2 separate regions of the Homo sapiens genome follow, and region 2 is linked to region 1. The links are contacts of gene promoters, found by promoter capture Hi-C in human tissues and cell types (Jung and others, 2019). All regions are on one chromosome and are shown on one strand. The core of a region is centred on a gene start or on the middle of the fragment in contact, and the rest is flanking DNA. Distances in the headings are between cores, read along the strand shown.

The links. Contacts are between HindIII fragments. The study calls those that stand out against the background at their distance.
Region 2: a contact is called between a fragment that was not itself captured here and the fragment with the promoter of TBC1D12 in region 1, in 1 of the 25 tissues and cell types used here (mesendoderm cells).

Annotation. Positions count from the first base shown.
Region 1 is chr10:94,401,259-94,403,958 of GRCh38, reverse strand. TBC1D12 (TBC1 domain family member 12) reads right to left here and starts at 1,418. Exons shown (of 13, transcript NM_015188.2): 1 at 375-1,418. The coding sequence starts at 1,345. RefSeq lists enhancers at 1-210, 1,511-1,670 and silencers at 291-620, 691-1,180. The HindIII fragment of the contact is 13,183 bases long and covers 1-2,700 here.
Region 2 is chr10:93,969,333-93,972,168 of GRCh38, reverse strand. No RefSeq gene overlaps it. Among named protein-coding and RNA genes, the nearest start is that of PLCE1, 23 kb to the left of the region's middle. The HindIII fragment of the contact is 6,988 bases long and covers 1-2,836 here.

The DNA.
Region 1 (2,700 bases), core at 169-2,668:
TTAAAAATTGGAGACGGAGATGGTTATCTGCTTTTCCAGAAAAGGCAACTGCATATGTGGCACTAGACAGCTGGCCCAACCTGACTGCTCAGAAGCCAGGTATGAATGGCAGGTACAGCCTCCCGCGGACAAGGCAACAGAAAGACTCGCTGTCCACAGAGCTCACAACTTCTCCTATAGAAACACAAAGCCGACCCAGTTCCTCTTCCTCCAGTGACAAATCAAAGCTAAGTCCTGACGCGTGTGGGGCTGGCACGGAAGCGGCCGACCAAGCTCTCCGCTCCGGCTCCGGCTCCGGCTCCGACTCCCACCAAGACCCCGGCTCCGGCCCCGGCCCCGGACCCGCCCCGAGTCCCATGCAGCCTGCGCTGTACCTGGTGAAGAAGTCCGCGAAGCCGCCACTCCGTCGAGCCCGGGCCGAAGCCCCCGCAGGACCCTGCTCCGCGGCGGGCAAGGGCACCGGCGGCCCCGCCGGGGGCAGGTGATCGCGGGCGCTCTGACCGCGGCTCACCTGGAACGTGTTGCGAGAGTTGAAGTGAATGTCAGAAAAGCCCAGGCGCGGCTCCGCACCCCCATTAGTCCTCTCGGCCGAGGTGGCAGGGGGCGCGCCCTCCTCGGGACCCCCGGCGCCGACTCCCCGCTGCTCTGAGTCCTCGCTACTGCTGCAGCTGCTGGCGGGGCTGTCCCCCGAGTCGCTGCCCGCGCCCTCGGGCTCCTGGGCGTCCGCGGCCACCAGGCAGCAGCTCCGCAGCGGGTCCTCAAGCGGAGAGGCCCAATCGGACGGGCTTCCCGCGCCGTCCGCGTCCTCGTCGCCAGGCCCCTCCAGGCGAAGGCGGCCGTAGGGGCGGCGGCGGCGCGACTCCCGGCCGCCGGCGCGCGCCAGCCCGCGAGCCTCTTCCAGATCGCGACAGTCCCGGCCCGGCAGAAAACCCGAGTCGCCGTTGGTCATGCCTTCGTGCCGCGGCGCGCGGCCATCAGCCACCTCCGCGCCGCGGTGTTTGGAGCCCGAGCCCAGCAGGCAGGCGTCCGATCGTGGGGCTGCCGAGGGCGGCGGGGCGCCGGCCTGGCCAGCGGGGAGCGGACAGTAGCAGAGCCCCGGCTCCAGCTGCTCCCCGGCCGCCGCGAGGTAACGCTGAAGGAGCTGCCGAGGCGGCGTCTCCTCCTCCTCGTCAGCCTCCTCCTCCTCGTCAGCCTCCTCCGGCGGCTCCACAGCGCCGACGCCTCCGCCAAAGCCGCCCGTGGCCCGGATTACCTTCCTGTCCTGGCCCACGGGGTCCGGCGCAGGCACCGGGAGCAACTTGGGGTTTCTTCCCGAGCAGGCTCCGGCATCCTCCGGACCCACCATCTGGGGGTGGGTGGCGGCCGCCCCAGGAGGCAAAGAAGGACTACAGGCGCAGGCTTGGCCAGAGAACAGCTCTGGGTGCTGGGGCCGCGGCGACAGCCGCCGCAACGTTCCCAGACCCACCCCTCCCACCCGCTGGGTCGGACAGTTGCTTGAGGGCGGGCACGCGCCAGGACTCGCGCACGCGCAAAAGTCGGACCGGTCAAGCCCCGACCTGGAGATTCCCCGAACCATAGAGACGGTAGCTAGAGAGACGCAGGCTGCCAATCTAGGATCCGCCATCTGGATGGTGGAAGCTGGTTGGCCCGCTCTAAGCGTGACAGTTCTTACCGAAGCGCGGGTATTGCTCGCTTAGCAAAAATTCACTTGATGTATTTCATTTATGGTAGTAAAATACTCCCATATTTGGGAGGTGTTAGCGTGGGTAAGTCCTTCCAGCTCTAATTGGTCACCAGTCGACTTTACGATTTTTACATCCTTCTCCGGCATCATTGCCACAGTTCAGGGCTTCATCACTTCATCCAGGAGGGTCAACACCCTCCCTTCTTCACTTCATCTAACACAAAAGAAAGATATCCTAAGTTATCTTGCTCACCTAGCACCATGTTTCATCACAGTCCTCTGTTTAAAAGATTATCACCGGCCGGGCGCGGTGGCTCACGCCTGTAATCCCAGCACTTTGGGAGGCCGAGGCGGGTGGATCACAAGGTCAGGAGATGGAGACCATCCTGGCTAACACGGTGAAACCCTGTCTCTACTAAAAATACAAAAAAATTAGCTGGGCATGGTGGCGGGCGCTTGTAGTCCCAGCTACTCGGGAGGCTGAGGCAGGAGAATGGCGTGAACCCGGGAGGCGGAGCTTGCAGTGAACCGAGATCGCGCCACTGCACTCCAGCCTGGGCGACAGAGCGAGACTCCGTCTCAAACAAGAAAAAAAGATTATCACCTAAGGAGGGAGAGGAAGTGGTCAGGCAGAGAGGAGCTATTGAAATAATTCCAGCACTCTGCGATAGTGGATTAAAATGGGATGATTGACCATTGAGTGGAAATGAAGTATATTTAAAGTAAAAGACGAAAGACTTGATAACTGATCAGAAGTGACAGAAGAGAGAGTAACCAATGATTACTACAAAGATATGAGACTGAAACTGATATGGTTTGAAGAAATAGAAAAGTGGATAGGAAAAAAACGATTAATAGGGGAAATACATCTGGTAAAGTAAACGACTGAAAATATCCAGCATATAGAGTTCTAAAACTTGAGTTGGCTGGGCGCAGTGGCTCACGCCTATAATCCCAACACGTTGGGAGGCCGAGGCAGGTGGATCACCTGAGGTCAGGAGTTCGAGACCAGCCTG
Region 2 (2,836 bases), core at 140-2,639, 430 kb after region 1:
CAGGTTAGAGGCTTAAGAAAAAGAGAGCTTCTACTTCTTGTCTCTTTGAACACTTGCTCTTGGAGCCCTGAAATATCATGTAAGAAGCAATGAGGGTGAAGTTCCCATGCTGGGAGGAAGCTTAAGATAGTTGTGTGGAGAAGCTATTCCCTGTCTGTGGATTCAACCAACCTTGGATTGAAAATATTTGAGGAAAAAGGAAAAATACAAATTAAAAAAAAAACAGTGTAACAATTATTTACATAGTATTAGGTATTATTAGTAATATAGAGAGGATTTAAAGTATAAGGAAGGATGCATATAGGTTACATGCAAATACTTTGCCATTTTTTTTTTTTCTTTTAAAAGAAAAGTTTATTACAGTTTCCAAGAGAAAGGGGCATGTCACACCATGAGGGGCCACACAGGGAAGAACGAGGTCAATCAGGAAGCAGCAGAATGAGGAAAAAGCCTGGGCAAAACCTTTACTGTTGTTTTCACAGAAGGCATGGGTGAAACAGAGTAAGCAGCTGAGCAGGCTGAGGATTGGATAGTTTCTTTTTTTTTTTTTTTTTTTTTATTATTGATCATTCTTGGGTGTTTCTCGCAGAGGGGGATTTGGCAGGGTCATAGGACAATAGTGGAGGGAAGGTCAGCAGATAAACAAGTGAACAAAGGTCTCTGGTTTTCCTAGGCAGAGGACCCTGCGGCCTTCCGCAGTGTTTGTGTCCCGGGGTACTTGAGATTAGGGAGTGGTGATGACTTTTAACGAGCATGCTGCCTTCAAGCATCTGTTTAACAAAGCACATCTTGCACCGCCCTTAATCCATTTAACCCTGAGTGGACACAGCACATGTTTCAGAGAGCACAGGGTTGGGGGTAAGGTCACAGATCAACAGGATCCCAAGGCAGAATAATTTTTCTTAGTACAGAACAAAATGAGAAGTCTCCCATGTCTACCTCTTTCTACACAGACAGGGCAACCATCCAACCTCTCAATCTTTTCCCCACCTTTCCCCCCTTTCTATTCCACAAAACCGCCATTGTCATCATGGCCCGTTCTCAATGAGCTGCTGGGCACACCTCCCAGACGGGGTGGCGGCCGGGCAGAGGGGCTCCTCACTTCCCAGTAGGGGCAGCCGGGCAGAGGCGCCCCTCACCTACCCGACGGGGCGGCTGGCCGGGCGGGGGGCTGACCCCCCCACCTCCCTCCCGGACGGGGTGGCTGGCTGACCCCCCCACCTCCCCCCCGGACGGGGTGGCTGCCGGGCGGAGACGCTCCTCACTTCCCAGACGGGGTGGCTGCCGGGCGGAGGGGCTCCTCACTTCTCTGACGGGGCGGCTGCCGGGTGGAGGGTCTCCTCACTTCTCAGACGGGGCGGTTGCCAGGCGGAGGGTCTCCTCACTTCTCAGACGGGGCGGCCGGGCAGAGACGCTCCTCACCTCCCAGATGGGGTCGTGGCCGGGTGGAGGCGCTCCTCACATCCCAGACGGGGTGGCGGGGCAGAGGTGCTCCCCACATCTCAGACGATGGGCGGCCCGGGCAGAGACGCTCCTCACTTCCTAGATGGGATGGCGGTCGGGAAGAGGCGCTCCTCACTTCCTGTATGGGATGGCGGCCGGGCAGAGACGCTCCTCATTTTCCAGACTGGGCAGCCAGGCAGAGGGGCTCCTCACATCCCAGGCGATGGGCGACTAGGCAGAGACGCTCCTCACTTCCCAGACGGGGTGGCGGCCGGGCAGAGGCTGCAATCTCGGCACTTTGGGGGGCCAAGGCAGGCGGCTGGGAGGTGGAGGTTGTAGCCAGCCGAGATCACGCCACTGCACTCCAGCCTGGGCACCAATGAGCGCTGAGTGAACCAGACTCCGTCTGCAATCCCGGCACCTCGGGAGGCCGAGGCTGGCGGATCACTCGCAGTTAGGAGCTGGAGACCAGCCCGGCCAACACAGCGAAACCCCGTCTCCACCAAAAAAATACGAAAACCGGTCAGGCGTGGCGGCGCGCGCCTGCAATCGCAGGCACTCGGCAGGCTGAGGCAGGAGAATCAGGCAGGGAGGTTGCAGTGAGCCGAGATGGCGGCAGTACAGTCCAGCTTCGGCTCGGCATCAGAGGGAGACCGTGGAAAGAGAGGGAGAGGGAGACCGTGGGGAGAGGGAGAGGGAGAGGGAGACGGAGAGGGAGAGGGAGAGGGAGAGGGAGAGGGAGAAGGAGAAGGAGAAGGAGAAGGAGAAGGAGAAGTATCACTCTTAAAAGCAGGATCACTTTGCCATTTTTTTTGTTTATTTGAGATGGAGTCTCACTCTGTTGCCCAGGCTGGAGTGCAATGGCACGATCTCGGCTCACTGCAACCTCCGCCTCCCGGGTTAAAGCGATTCTTCAGCTTCAGCCTCCCGAGCAGCTGGGATTACAGGCATGCACCACCACACCCAGCTAATTTTTGTATTTTTGTAAGAGAAGGGGTTTCACCATGTTGGCCAGGCTGGTATACTATGCCATTTTATATAATCAGTGACTTGAGTATCCTCAGAATTTGATATCCATGGGGGTCCTGGAACAAATCCCCTGTGGATACTGAGGGATGATGATATAGAGACAGAAAGAGAGAGATACCTAACAGCACCCAGCTCTTTAGCATTCCAGCACTCAGAGAATCCCAGCTGCGACTTCAGAAATTGTAGAACAGGGTCAAGGCTTTCCTGCTGTGCTCTTACTGCATTCTTGACCCGTTAAGTTATGAGATATAGTAACAATAAATTATTGATTTAAACCTCTAAGTTTTGGGGTAGTTTTTTTTTTTTTTTTTTAATTTTGAAATGGAGTCTCATTCTGTTGCCCAGGCTAGAGTGCAGTGGCACG